2 separate regions of the Homo sapiens genome follow, and region 1 is linked to region 2. The links are contacts of gene promoters, found by promoter capture Hi-C in human tissues and cell types (Jung and others, 2019). All regions are on one chromosome and are shown on one strand. Each heading gives the region's core, a stretch centred on a gene start or on the middle of the fragment in contact. The rest is flanking DNA. Distances are from core to core; before and after follow the strand shown.

Evidence for each region. Contacts are between HindIII fragments. The study calls those that stand out against the background at their distance.
Region 1: the fragment with the promoter of BRMS1L here is called in contact with the fragment with the promoter of NKX2-1 in region 2 in 1 of the 25 tissues and cell types used here (neural progenitor cells).

Annotation. Positions count from the first base shown.
Region 1 is chr14:35,823,393-35,830,767 of GRCh38, reverse strand. BRMS1L (BRMS1 like transcriptional repressor) reads right to left here and starts at 4,430. Exons shown (of 10, transcript NM_032352.4): 1 at 4,110-4,430. The coding sequence starts at 4,251. RefSeq lists silencers at 3,870-4,039, 4,290-4,389. The HindIII fragment of the contact is 14,376 bases long and covers 1-7,375 here.
Region 2 is chr14:36,518,725-36,525,786 of GRCh38, reverse strand. NKX2-1 (NK2 homeobox 1) reads left to right here and starts at 5,555. Exons shown (of 3, transcript NM_001079668.3): 1 at 5,555-5,734; 2 at 6,417-6,802. The coding sequence starts at 5,658. It overlaps SFTA3 (surfactant associated 3), which reads left to right and starts at 6,231. Exons shown (of 5, transcript NR_161365.1): 1 at 6,231-6,319. NKX2-1-AS1 (NKX2-1 antisense RNA 1) reads right to left here and starts at 6,509. Exons shown (of 2, transcript NR_103710.1): 1 at 6,108-6,509; 2 at 2,771-4,143. It overlaps LOC105370453 (a long non-coding RNA gene), which reads right to left and starts at 1,098. Exons shown (of 3, transcript XR_001750715.2): 1 at 579-1,098. RefSeq lists enhancers at 1-921, 3,140-4,139, 4,140-5,139, 5,140-6,139. The HindIII fragment of the contact is 7,239 bases long and covers 3,265-7,062 here.

The sequences.
Region 1 (7,375 bases), core at 3,181-5,680, 690 kb after region 2:
CAAAATGACTGTGTCCTTTAAAGGCTAACATTGCTCAAAAACATTTTTGGGATTCTTCTTTCAGAACTGCTCACATGGCTGATTTGCCTGTCACATAAAAAAAGAAAAGTGGCCGGGTGTGGTGGCTCATGCCTGTAATCCCAGCACTTTGGGAGGCTGAGGCTGGAGGATTGCTCGAGCTCAAGCGTTCAAGACCAGCCTGGGCAACATGGTGAAACCCCATCTCTAATAAAAATACAAAAATTAGCCAGACATAGTGGTGGATGCCTGTAGTCCCAACTGCTCGAGAGACCGAAGTGGGAGGATCGTTTGAACTTGATAGGCAGAGGTTGCAGTGAGCCAAGATTGCGCCAGCCTGGGCAACAGAGATCCTGTCTCAAAAATAAAAAGTGAAAGAAAGGCCAGGCATGGTGGCTCACTCCTGTAATCCCAGCACTTTGGGAGGCTGAGGCAGGCGGATCACCTGAGGTCAGGAGTTCGAGACCAGCCTGACCAACATGGAGAAAACCCATCTCTACTAAAAATACAAAATTAGCTGGGCGTGGTGGCACATGCCTGTAATCCCAGCTACCTGGGAGGTTGAGGCAGGAGAATCGCTTGAACCCAGGAGGTGGAGGTTGTGGTGAGCCAAGATCGTGCCATTGCACTCTAGCCTGGGCAACAAGAGCGAAACTCCATCTCAAAAAAAGGAAAAAAAAAGAAAAAGAAAAAGGAAAACTAATCTTATTATGTTTACCACAGGCTCTCCTGGTCTGCCATTCCTACGTTCCCTTATTCCGTCTACCCATATTACTATCAGTGAGAAAGAGGCAAATGAGGAGGAAAATACAAACTTTTTAAGGAAAGCAACTGTTAATTACCAGGTCTGTCCTATAGTCCACATTTTCTATGTTCATATCACATATATTCATTCATCAAAATAACTGAAGCACAAAATGATCTGCATCTTGATCTTCATCAAATAAAAGTCAAACTATGAGAAAGAGTTAAATCATGTTCAATTATTTTTATATAACATGGAAGGCTGACTCATTTTTTTCTCATTTTCTAAAACAGATTAAAAATACTTCTGGCTTTTGATTGCTTACTTCTTGGCTACTCAAAACTTGGTCCCTCAAGATGACTCACTATCCAAGTTCTCTGGATAGTAGAGGCTTTTCCGTAGCCTTAGAATTTGCTCAGCACCAACATTTGAGAAGAAAACACTGTGAAAGTTTAACATGAAAGACATATGGTAGAACAGAGATGCTTTAACAGAAGCAAACTGCAAAATTTATTTAAACAATTTCTTTGCACTTAAAATTTTGACTTGTAGTTCAAATTATTATCACATTCTTCAAAAATTAAGTTGTTCATTATTTTTTGGGATGGAATTTTTAAAAGTTAAAAATCACAAGAGTCAACATAAAAATTATAGGGGGAGAATTTTAACAAATAGAATTTTATGAGATCCTTGCTCCTATCATAAATGCAAGAACATCTGAAGACAAAATACTTTATAGATCTAAGAAACATATTCACCAACAGGCCAGGTGCAGTGGCTCCCGCCTGTAATCCCAGCACTTTGGGAGGCAGAGTCGGGTGGATCACTTGAAGTCAGGAGTTCAAGACCAGCCTGGCCAACGTGGCAAAACCCCATCTCTACTAAAAACACAAAAATTAGCCGGGTGTGTTGGAGGATGCCTGTAATCCCAGCTACTCAGGAGGCTGAGGCTGGAGAATCTAATCCAGGAGGCAGAGGTTGCAGCGAGCCAAGATCGTGCCACTGCACTCCAGCCTGGGTGACAGAGCAAGACTGTCTCAAAAAAAAGAAAAAAAAAAAAGAAATATATTCCCATACAGTCTCCTTTCTCTATATTCCCCGCTTTTGAAATCTCACCTACTTTCATGGCAAGGCAGATGACTTACAAATTATTCTCCCCTTCCCATATCGGGCAGGTTCCAATGTCACATTTCCATTTGTCAGTTGGGCAATCTTAAGCATACTGCCATCACTCCAAAAGCAACACGTCGGCCAGGCACGGTGGCTCACACCTATAATCCTAACACTTGGGGAGGCCGAGGCAGGCAGATCACCTGAGGTCAGGAGTTCAAGACCATCCTGGCCAACATGGTGAAACACAAAAATTATCTGAGCGTGGCGGCGCATGCCTGTAATCCCAGCTACTCGGGAGGCTGAGGCAGGAGAATTGCTTGTACCCTGGAGGTGGAGGTTGCAGTGAGCCAAGATGATGCCATTGCACTCCAGCCTGGGTGCCAAGAGCAAAACTCCTTCTCAAAAAAAAAAAAAAAAAAAGGCTGGGAATGGTAGCTCATGCCTGTAATCCCAGCACATTGGGAGGTTGAAGTGGGTGGATCACGAGGTCAGGAGTTCGAGACCAGCCTGGACAACATGGAGAAACCCTGTCTCTACTAAAAATACAAAAAATTAGCTTGGTGTGGTGGCACCCGCCTATAATCACAGCTACTCGGGAGGCTAAGGCAGGAGAATTGCTTGAACCCAGGAGGCGGAGGTTGCAGTGAGCCAAGATCACGCCATTACACTCCAGCCTGGGCAACAGAGCGAGACTCCATCTCAAAGAGAGAAAAGAAAAAAAAAAGCAACATGTCTGAAATACTCTTTTCTTTCACCTTCATCTCAAATCTTTCACTTTTCTATTTCTGTTGATGCTACCGCCACTCTCCTTGTATCTTGGTTTTTCTCTTACCTTCAATCCTAAACTTGCATTCATCAATCCTGTTTTGTGCTTTCTTTGAAATCACTCACATCTATACTTTCCTGTTCTTTTCCGAGCTCAACTCCTTCTCCCAAGGTTTTCACGCTCTTTTGAATAAGCCCCAAACTCTGGCCCTTGTACTTTTTCTTACATCCCTCTCCCTGCAGGGATACCCACCACCCCAAACCAAATTCTACTCATTCTTCAAGATAATTAAGGTAATCCCACCTTCTTCAGCTAGGCTTTGTGACCACCCAATATTGAAACGATTTCCTCTGCCTCTGAATTCCTACAGCAACATTTAGTTAAGCATTCATTTGGCAATTTAATCAAGTGGTGACTTATGATAGCTTTTTAAGTGAGCCCAGATAATAACTATTTATCCCTCATATTGAGTACTGTCCAGTGCTGCACAAAGAAGTCACTCATAAATATTTTTGGATGGCTGATTTACTGATTGAAATTATATCCTTCCATGGAGATTTGCTTTGCAAGGGAAACATGAAAAGAGGGCATCTGGGTGATACTAGGCTGTCATCAACCTATCATCAATGCTTCCTTTACATGACCAAAATCAGGCCAAGACAAAGAAGTCAGTCTCATCTCCATCATTTGAATCGAAAGAAAATAATCCCGGTAATCACAAATTCCATTTCACTTTAGAATAACCATTCCTAAAAGTTTGCAAAATTTATTTGTAGTGTTAATCTGCCCTCCTCCCCCACCCAAAATAATTTAAAACAGCCCAAAGTTAGAAAAAACTGAAGGGAAGAAAAGACTTGGAGAATTTTCAACGCTGCCAAAACTCAGCCAATTTATAAGCATATGAAGATCCAAAATGAGCCCGAATGTTGGTCCCTTCCTCTCAGTCTTGCAAACTTCAGGGAGCTACTGAACGGGACCGCTCTCAAGTTAGCCCCCGAAAAGACACTGATGTAAAAGTGCTGACCGGCAAGTTGACTTGCAAACTGAGGTTAATTACTAAGCCGACCCTCTGTCCCGGCAACTCACTTGCGCTGAGAAGTGAGGGTTGCAAAGGTGAAAATAGGGAAAGAGGTCGGTGGGCTGGGGAGAGGAGGCATTTCCAGTTTGTCTGCTGCGGGAAGTTGTCCGCCTGGGCTGGTCGCTCCAGAGCACCACCGGGGGCAGGACCACGCCGCGTTTGGGAGCTGGACAAGCCCAGGCCCGCCCCGCCCCGCCGCCGGGACCCATCAGGAGCCAGACAGCGCCCAGCGACCGGTCAGGGTGCAGCCCAGGGCCCAGAGCCAGTCTCCGCCCCTTCCCTCTGTCCCCGCCCCGCTTTCCCAGCAGGACGCAGCCGCCTGGCGTGCGGAGAGCGGCCTGTCGCGCGCTGGGCGCGGGGACTCAGGGTCCCAGCAGTGGGTCGCGCACCTGAGCTATCTCCATCCTCGGAGACCGACGAGCTCTCAGTGTCCTCGTCCTCGGAGCTGCTCCCCTCATTTTCGGCGTAGTCCACCTCCATCTCATCGTGATGGTTGGTCTCCTTCTTATCCCCTCGGGAATGGACTGGCATTTTCCAGCCGCGCCGTCGCTTTCCACTACCGGCGCCCAGCCCGGCCACCGCCGCTTCAATGAAGGGCGCGCGGAACGCCCCAACCCACCCAGCCACCGAGCTTGCTCGCCCCCTTGGCTCCTCCCCGCCCCCGGCCCGGGCCTCACAACCTAACCCGCAGGCTCTGCGATGGGAGCTCTGCCATTGGCGGAGGCCTTCCACCGAGCCAGAGGGCGGGGGCTTGCCCTGCTCTGGTACGATTGGTTGCCCGCAATTACGACGCGGCCTTCCGATGCTTGCCGGGAGTTGTAGTTCGTAGGTCTCAGACCTGCAGGGGCTGCACGCTTCCATCCCTCGGCAGCCCTGATCACTTCTTCCTTCTGGACTTCAAGTCCCACAAGGCACGAAAGCTGACACTCTGGATCGCAGTTTATAAACTAAACAGAAACAGATTGTGCGAATTTAGTCTGTATTTATCTATTTCCCGCCAAGTGATTGTTTGACCTGCCTGACCATCAGAGATGTTACTGTTAGATGTGAAAATGTCTTTTGCCTAAAAGGATCTTTGCCTGCTCATTGAGCCTGGGGAACTGGAGAACCATCTGTTTTACTAAGCACCTTTATTACCTACCATTAATAAACTGTTTTATTTAATTATTAACTATAGACGATAACTTGCACTTTCTGTGTTGTGCAAAAATCTTTAAATTATTCTTGAAACTTTTACAATACAGAAGGTAAGGAAGTTTTATCTTGGCATTTTCAATCTAATATTTTTGGCATTTATTTTTTACCAAATGCAGTCGGAAAATGCCATCAGTCCTGATTTAACTTTAGTTTTCAATGAAAAATACATACTTAACCAGATGTACTTTCTCAAAAAAAGGGTACATAGCTCCCTCTCCCTCTCCCTCGCCCTCGCCCTCGCCCTCGCCCTCTCCACGGTCTCCCTCTCCCTCTCTTTCCACGGTCTCCCACTGATGCCGAGCCGAAGCTGGACTGTACTGCTGCCATCTCGGCTCACTGCAACCTCCCTGCCTGATTCTCCTGCCTCAGCCTGCCGAGTGCCTGCGATTGCAGGCGCGTGCCGCCACGCCTGACTGGTTTTCGTATTTTTTTGGTGGAGACGGTTTCGCTGTGTTGGCCGGGCTGGTCTCCAGCTCCTAACCGCGAATGATCCGCCAGCCCCGACCTCCCGAGGTGCCGGGATTGCAGACGGAGTCTCGTTCACTCAGTGCTCAATGGTGCCCAGGCTGGAGTGCAGTGGCGTGATCTCGGCTCGCTACAACCACCTCCCAGCCGCCTGCCTTGGCCTCCCAAAGAGCCGAGATTGCAGCCTCTGCCCGGCCGCCACCCCGTCTGGGAAGTGAGGAGCGTCTCTGCCTGGCCGCCCATCGTCTGGGATGTGAGGAGCCCCTCTACCTGGCTGCCCAGTCTGGAAAGTGAGGAGCGTCTCTGCCCGGCCGCCATCCCATCTAGGAAGTGAGGAGCGTCTCTGCCTGGCAGCCCATCGTCTGGGATGTGGGGAGCACCTCTGCCCCGCCGCCCCGTCTGGGATGTGAGGAGCGCCTCTGCCCAGCCGCGACCCCGTCTGGGAGGTGAGGAGCGTCTCTGCCCGGCCACCCCGTCTGAGAAGTGAGGAGACCCTCTGCCCGGCAACCGCCCCGTCTGAGAAGTGAGGAGCCCCTCCGCCCGGCAGCCGCCCCGTCTGAGAAGTGAGGAGCCCCTCCGTCCGGCAGCCACCCCGTCTGGGAAGTGAAGAGCGTCTCCGCCCGGCAGCCACCCCGTCCGGGAGGGAGGTGGGGGTCAGCCCCCGCCAGGCCAGCCTCCCGGACGGGAGGGAGGTGGGGGGGTCAGCGCCCCGCCCGGCCAGCCGCCCCTTCCGGGAGGGAGGTGGGGGGGTCAGCGCCCCGCCCGGCCAGCCGCCCCTTCTGGGAGGGAGGTTGGGGGTCAGCCCCCTGCCCGGCCAGCCGCCCCGCCCGGGAGGTGAGGGGCGCCTCTGCCCGGCCGCCCCTACTGGGAAGTGAGGAGCCCCTCTGCCCGGCCACCACCCCGTCTGGGAGGTGTGCCCAACAGCTCATTGAGAACGGGCCAGGATGACAATGGCGGCTTTGTGGAATAGAAAGGCGGGAAAGGTGGGGAAAAGATTGAGAAATCGGATGGTTGCCGTGTCTGTGTAGAAAGAAGTAGACATGGGAGACTTGTCATTTTGTTCTGTACTAAGAAAACTTCTTCTGCCTTGGGATCCTGTTGATCTGTGACCTTACCCCCAACCCTGTGCTCTCTGAAACATGTGCTGTGTCCACTCAGGGTTAAATGGATTAAGGTCGGTGCAAGATGTGCTTTGTTAAACAGATGCTTGAAGGCAGCATGCTCGTTAAGAGTCATCACCACTCCCTAATCTCAGGTACCCAGGGACACAAACACTGCGGAAGGCCGCAGGGTCCTCTGCCTAGGAAAACCAGAGACCTTTGTTCACTTGTTTATCTGCTGACCTTCCCTCCACTATTGTCCTATGACCCTGCCAAATCCCCCTCTGCGAGAAACACCCAAGAATGATCAATAAAAATAAATAAATAAATAAATAAATAAATAAAGGGTACATAGACAAGGAAGCCTCAATAGGTATCATAACTCATTAAGTGACCATTTATCCTCTGTATCAGGTATCTTGGTAAGCCCTTTACATGGGTTTAGTGAGTTTAATTCTCAATTTAATAGCCCTGAGTTAGGTGCCATTGTTATTCCCATTTTACGGATAAGGAAACTTCATTTGCAGACCAATCTTAAAACTATATTTTACCCCTTATAACGACAGGGTTTCTTCTTCTTGAAGTGGCAATTTGCTATTGAAAGATAGTACAGGCCGGCAGGGTGGCTAACGCCTGTAGTCCCCACACTTTAGGAGGCCGAGGCGAGTGGATCACTTGAGGTCAGGAGTTCAAGACCAGCCTGGCCAATATGGTGAAACCCAATCTCCAGAGGCTGAGGTGAGAGAATTGCTTGAACTTGAGAGGTCAAGATTGCAGTGAGCCGACATTGCACCACTGCACTCCAGCCTGGGTGACAGAGTGAGACCCTGTCTCCTGTCTCAAAGAGAAAAAAAAAAAAGTTCATAGAATATTGTGGATTGTATAGCATTGCA
Region 2 (7,062 bases), core at 4,306-6,805:
GTCTCCGACCACCACCAGTTTTCCCTAGCCGGAAACTAGTAGCAAAGCTTCCCCGAGACCGCTCTAAAGCTGCAGTTCTCCAGACGGCCGCCGGAAGAGGGCGCTGCGGATCGCCTCGGTCTGCAACCTTCAGACCCCAAGTCCTAGGCAGCGAGGGAGAATTCAGCCTCCCTCAAGTCCCAGAAAACATTGGGCCTCGGAGATTCCCCCTCCACCCTTCCCTCACACCCACCCCAATGGCCTGGGGTCGATACTGCGGCCACCGGAAACTGCCTGGGACAAGTGTTGGGGATGTGGGGGAGACGGGCTGTGGTGGGAGGTTGGAGAGGAGGAAAGGAGCGGAGGAGGGAACCCCAGCGCTGCTGGCAAGCCCGCGGGAAACTCGAACACCCAAGGCCCACGGGCTCCCACTGTTGGGACTGAGATTTGTTGGGGAACAGAGGGCAGAAAGAGCTATAGGTTTCGACTACCTAAAGCTGAATGAGGCTGCACAGGTCCTGGGGCGAAAACAGCCGCGCCGCCACAAGGATGCTTCGGGAATCTGTCCTTTAATTATCAGGAGCAGCTGCGAAACTTACCTTAGCGCAGCACGAACCCTAGAGCGCCCCCGAGGGTGTCCCTGCCCCTTCCGACGGGGGCGTCTGGCGGATTCGCGGCGTAGCACGGCAGCGCGGGCCTCACAGGGTCGGCTGACCGCTTCAGGCCCGTGCTCCTACCTCCCGTCTCCGTCTTGGTTTCCTCGCAATTCAAAGGGAGCTGCTGAGCTCCCGCTGTTCTCTGCTTTGTAACCCGCTCCCTCAGGTTCCCTCCTACCCCAGGCCCCTTCCCGCCAGAGGGCGCCCCTGGAGTCGGTGGAGAAGGTAGGGGCTCTAAATACAAAAATTCAAGACGAGTTGAATCTTGGCTTGAACTGCGTGACAGGAAAATAGGCAAGTTTGGAGACCACAGGTGTTAACTTCTAGTGGGGCTTGACCCGACAGAGGAGCAGATTCTTCAACACCAAAGGCCTAAGGGCCGGACTCTCTTCGCGGACTCTGGCCCTCATAGACGCGCCCTCGCCTCCCATACCCTCCGTAGAGCATGCCTGTGAGGGAAAGGGAGAAGCAGAAGCCGCGCTCGGATGACTTGGCGCCCCACCCCCCAGCCTGCCCACAGGCCACGAATTGAGAAAAGCTTTCCCAAAAGGAAAGTCCTCTCAAAGGCCCTAGACGGTCAAATCGGGAAAGGGAGCAGTAGAGGGATCCTTCCTCCCGCTGCGTCTGTGAAAGCCGCCTGTCTGCACGCCCCGGGCTCCCGCGGTCCCTCCCGAGGATTTCGGTTCTGGTGCCTGAGAAAGCAGCGCAGAGGGGGCCCTGCGAGACCCCTCCAGAGAAATCATCCCCCGGAGGCATTCCTCGGATCTTGGGGTTGCGGAGCAGCGCCCCCCAGCGCCCAGTTACACTCCTGCCTTCCGCTCCCTGCGCCTGGTTGCCTCGATGGCACTCGCGAGCCCAGCTCAGCCCGGCTTAGAAGCCTGTGCCTAGCTGTGGGAGACTGCGGGAGCAACTGAGGGGCCCAAGTGTTTCTTGTTGAAGGTCAGAGGCCTAGAGTCACAGTTTCTCTAAATCCAAAATACAGAATCAGAAGGAATAACTCCTTCTATTAGCGACTTTTGTGATCTACAAACTCAGGCACATGATCTCATCCTGAATTGTTTGGATCCCTAGCACAAACCAAGCCAGTACACAGGGCAGGTTGTGACCATTTTTTACAGCTCAGGAAACAGGTGCTCGGAGGCTGTGTTTCCTCAGCGTTTCTCGAGGCACTGGGGGGTTCAAAGATAGATAAAACAGGGGCTCACCCTCAAGGAGGGAAGCCAGAAAACACACACTGGTTTACTCTGGCTGTGATGGGAGTGACTCCAGGGTGTGGCGGGAGCCCACAAGAGCGGTACTGCACAGCTGGAAAAAGGCAAAGCCAGGGTTCAAACCTAGGACGGACTTCCACTCAAGGACTCCTCTCACGACCTTGGAATGCTGAGAGATCAAGAAATGGTGCAAAAACCCACACACGAATCTCCATTACAACCCTCTCTATCTCACTGGATCCTAGAGTAACATCTGTCAGAAAGTAACTACATATTATTTGGGTGATTTATTGTGAATGTGTAAGTTCCGTGTGAGTAGGAGCTGCATCTAGATTAAGTTTGAATTTTCAGGCCTTGCGTAGTCCCTGGCACAGAGCCCTAGCTGAATAAATACTGTCGAGTGAATCAAAAATTGCGATAAAACTTGGAGCAAAATAACACTACCAGGAGACAGAGTGGCTCAGCGCCCTAAACAGGTGTGGAGGACCACAAAGGGAGTTAGAAAAAGCAGTTGGGGGGTGGGGCGGTGAGACAGGTGGTTCCTCCTCACAGTTCCACCTGGTCCAAGCTACAGACCCCAAATTAGCCTTCTTTTGTATGAGCCCTCTGTTCTTGTCTCGCAAAGTGACACTGGAGGGAGAGAAAGGAGTTTCCCTGCGGCCACGCTGGTGTAAGCAAAGGCTGATGGCGATTCCGCGCATCTAGGGCCGAGCCTGGGCCTGCGCCCCCTCGGATTCCTGGCGGAGCCGCAGCCAGCGAAGCAGAGCGTGGTCGGAATAGAGGCAGCGACCGTGTGAGGTCGCGCCAGGGAAAGCTCCGCGAGGGGCCAGCGTTGGGCCCTGCCCTGCCCTGACCGCTCCCCACTGTGCCCACTCCACCCGGGAGCAAGCTAGTTGCGGGATAAAGGAATACGCGCAGACTTCGCAAAGTGCAATCGGGGTTCTTCGTATTCATGGAAAAAAAAATCACTGGTTTAGCCCGGGTCTGCCCTATTTAGGATGAGTCCAGGAGGCGGCGGAAAGAAAGGACGCTCTTCGGTCAGAGGGAGGTGTTTCGGGCCATGGGAGGGACTCTGGAGGCCTTTGCTTGGATAAGCTTGGAGATACAGATGTCCTTCTCTTCCCTACAAGGTGCGTTAGTCTCCGGGCTTATTTTCGGCAGTGCAGTGGTACTGGGGAAGAAGGCAGAGCCGCGTGTTGAGAAGGGGCTAGGGTAGTAGAGGCGCTGGAGCCTGGGCGGCAGGGCGCTGCAAAGGCCCAGGCGAGGTGGATAGAGAGCTTGCTGGTGCGCGCGAGAAGCACGCCTGCAGGCAGAGGTTGAAGCGCCGTCCCAGTTGTGTCCCAGAGTGAAGCGGGAGTCTTTGCCCGCCCCAGCCACTTCGAGCTCCACTCCAGTTCAGCTCCCAGAGTCGCCACTTGCTGCGCGGTTGTTGGGGAGGGGGTTCCTGGTCCAGAACGAGACGTGGGGGGCTGGGGGTTTCCTCGAGAACTGCAGGCCTGGTTGCCCCCGGACTGTCAGAGCCGGAGGCCGGGGAGCTGCCAGCCACGTGCGCCTGTGGCCTGCTGAGAGGTTGAAAAGCTGCCAAGGGACGAAGGCCGAGAAGACAGGACCTAGGGGCTGTGGAAGATTCACCCAACTCTTCCTTTTACTCAGGTCTTGGGACCTAAGAGGGGGTGGGGATAGTCATGATAATAACTACCGCAATCTCCAGTGCTGGCACTGAGCTGAAAAACATTCAAAGCTTTCAAAGCATTTTGATGTGCTTCATCTTACTTGAATCTCACAAAAACCTTGTGAAGATTGATCTCCATTTCTAAATGGCGTTGAGACTGGAAGAGATGTACAACATTCTACACTTGGTGTTCCTTAAACTTACAAACAACTATGAAATAATGGCGAGTGAGAGAAAGAAGCTGGGTGACTGGGAAACCCACCCCGCCTTCGCAATTAGACCCCATTCGGGACTCAGGCCCGGCCAGGTCGCGCCTGCAGACAAGGTCTGTATTCAGCGTTGCCAGTTCTCCTCTGTGGTTCGCTTAAGCCCGGCGTCGCCTCCCCTCCTTGCTTAGCCACCACAGTGATCAATGCTCAGTTCGTCGGGGCCTGAGAGCGCCCCCCAGAGAAGCCCCTGGGAAGGAAGGGCAAGGAGCCGGGCTTCGCTCTGGTCTTTCGCAACACCAGCGGCGAGCGCGTCTCCCTGCGCAAACGTAGGGTGGCCTCCCCAGCTCTGCCGTGGGGACCGCACAAAAACGCGGGCGCAGGTGGGAGGGCGGAGGGTGTCCTGAGCTTTCTTTACCCTGGTAAAGAAGGTAGGCGGTGAGAAAAGCGAATGTTATTATAGAAGTTGGCTTTGTATTGAGGGAGTAAGAGCTCTCTTCAAGGAGAGGGCTGAAATCTTTAAAAATAAATAAAACTTTCTCTACTGTAATTGCTATTAATAAAAAAAGGGAGCCCGGATGAATTAAGTAGCTCAAAACTGCCTGTTCGTCATGATCAGGAGCTCCTTCTCTACAAGGAGGGGAAAGAAAATGTGAAAACAAAAACTAAATTCAAGAAGCTCCTTGACCAGCGCGGGTGTCTTGGAGGCACCTGCCGGGGCCGGCCGGGGAGCGCTCCGCCCTCCCAGCCCCTGGCGCGCAGAGGAGACTAAAACAGCTAAGGAGAAAGCAAAACAAAAACAATGATAAAAACGTTTAAAATCCAAGGACAAAAACCGGAGTCGGTCTCAAAATCCGCGCCGTTCAGTGCTCCACTCGGTAGTCGACTCGGCTGCAGGCCCCGGCCTGGCCGGAGCAACGCGGGGGACACCCCCGATTCCGCTGGGGAGCGCAGCCCACAGCTCCCCCTCGCCAGGCGCCCAAGGACCCTCAAGGCGCGGGGCCCACACTTGAAGCCTGGGAACGCGCAGACAGGAAACCCTCTTCCTCCTAAGCAGTTTCTTGCTCGTCGGATGAGAGGCGCCCAATTGAAGCAGAATGATCCTCATCTACTAATATCCAGCGTGGCCACAAAGCGACTGGCCATTTACGCCACCACTTTAAACAAAGATATTTGGTTATTCCCGGGAAGCAAGAGCACTTTTGCATGGCTGAGCTGCGGGCGGAGGCGAGCCTCGGCCCAGCCTCCCGCCCGCTGAGCTGCCCGCACCTCGGCATTCGCCCCCTCCTGGCCAGCGCTCCAGCCGCCGGGGTTCAGGCTCAGTTCCGCCCGGCAACAGACAGACGGGCACTCACGCCGCTCCCTGCTCGCGCGCTCCCTGAAGCATCAGAGGGGAAAACAGCGTGGCTCTGGGCTCGGGTGCTGGGGCTGTGATGTCCTCGGAAAGTCAGCTCCAGCCCCAGATCCCCGCGTGTCTGGGAGATGGGCGAGGGTCAGGGACACCAGGTTTGTTCGAGGTGGGGCAACTTCAGTGACGGACCCTCCCGTGAGACCCCTTCCCATCCTCCCAGCTCTGGGGGCCAGTGCTGTGTTTGCTCGGCCGGGGGTGGGGGGGGGGGGGGAAGACCTTGGGGGAGGCGTGTTAGCGGGGGTGGCCCACTGAAAAACCCCTGAGCTGCGGGGGCGGGTTGTGGCTCGGGGATCCGGGACAGCCTCCGGGAGGCAGTCGATCCCCTACTCAGCGCCCCCTCCGCCCGCTCGGATTCTCTCCGGTAGGGGGAAAGGGGGCGGGGAGCAGAGGTGTCCCTCTGACGGCGGCAGAAGAGAGGCAGACAGACTGACAGACACGTAGACCAACAGTGCGGCCCCAGGGTTCGTCCCCAGACTCGCTCGCTCATTTGTTGGCGACTGGGGCTCAGCGCAGCGAAGCCCGATGTGGTCCGGAGGCAGTGGGAAGGCGCGGGGCTGGGAGGCCGCGGCGGGAGGGAGGAGCAGCCCCGGCAGGCTCAGGTGAAACCCCCACCCTGTCCCTCAGCCCCCTCCTCCTAAAGACCTGTCCGTGCCCGGGGAACCCCGACCGAATTGGAAAGTGGTTCCACTTTGTAACTCCGCAAGTTGGTTGCAAAGCAGCATTCACCTTCCTTCCTCTCAACCATCTCTCCTCCTCTGTTACTCCCCCACCCCACCTCCTGCCCTCCCCGCTCTCGGTTCCCTCCTCCTTCCCCTCCCCTCCACCTCCTCCCCGCGCTCCGCTGGTACCCCACAAAAAATGGGGGTGGGGGTGTCCAAGGGAGGGGGGAAATGCTTTGGGTCTCGTCTCTGCCTCTCTCTCTCTCTCTTTGAGACCTAAAAATCCTGACAAGTGAAACTTAAAGGTGTTTACCTTGTCATCAGCATGTAAGCTAATTATCTCGGGCAAGATGTAGGCTTCTATTGTCTTGTTGCTTTAGCGCTTACGCCCCGCCTCTGGTGGCTGCCTAAAACCTGGCGCCGGGCTAAAACAAACGCGAGGCAGCCCCCGAGCCTCCACTCAAGCCAATTAAGGAGGACTCGGTCCACTCCGTTACGTGTACATCCAACAAGATCGGCGTTAAGGTAACACCAGAATATTTGGCAAAGGGAGAAAAAAAAAGCAGCGAGGCTTCGCCTTCCCCCTCTCCCTTTTTTTTCCTCCTCTTCCTTCCTCCTCCAGCCGCCGCCGAATCATGTCGATGAGTCCAAAGCACACGACTCCGTTCTCAGTGTCTGACATCTTGAGTCCCCTGGAGGAAAGCTACAAGAAAGTGGGCATGGAGGGCGGCGGCCTCGGGGCTCCGCTGGCGGCGTACAGGCAGGGCCAGGCGGCACCGCCAACAGCGGCCATGCAGCAGCACGCCGTGGGGCACCACGGCGCCGTCACCGCCGCCTACCACATGACGGCGGCGGGGGTGCCCCAGCTCTCGCACTCCGCCGTGGGGGGCTACTGCAACGGCAACCTGGGCAACATGAGCGAGCTGCCGCCGTACCAGGACACCATGAGGAACAGCGCCTCTGGCCCCGGATGGTACGGCGCCAACCCAGACCCGCGCTTCCCCGCCAGTAAGTGAGGCCGCCCCACTGCGGGGCCGCGGGCTGAGCTCAGGAGGTGCGGCGAGAGCCGTCCAGAAGGCGCGGCGCCGGCAGGCTGCGCGCTGGGCATCAGGGAGGGCGGCCCGGCAGCGGCGCCAGGGACTTGGGTGCGGGAGCTGGGGATGCTTCCCCCTGCTCGGCTGGGGGTCCAAGAACAGGCACTTGGTAGCGCTGGGGTCCTGCGGTCAGATGCGGGTACTCGGCGTCTCCTAGGCGCGGTGGACTGGCAG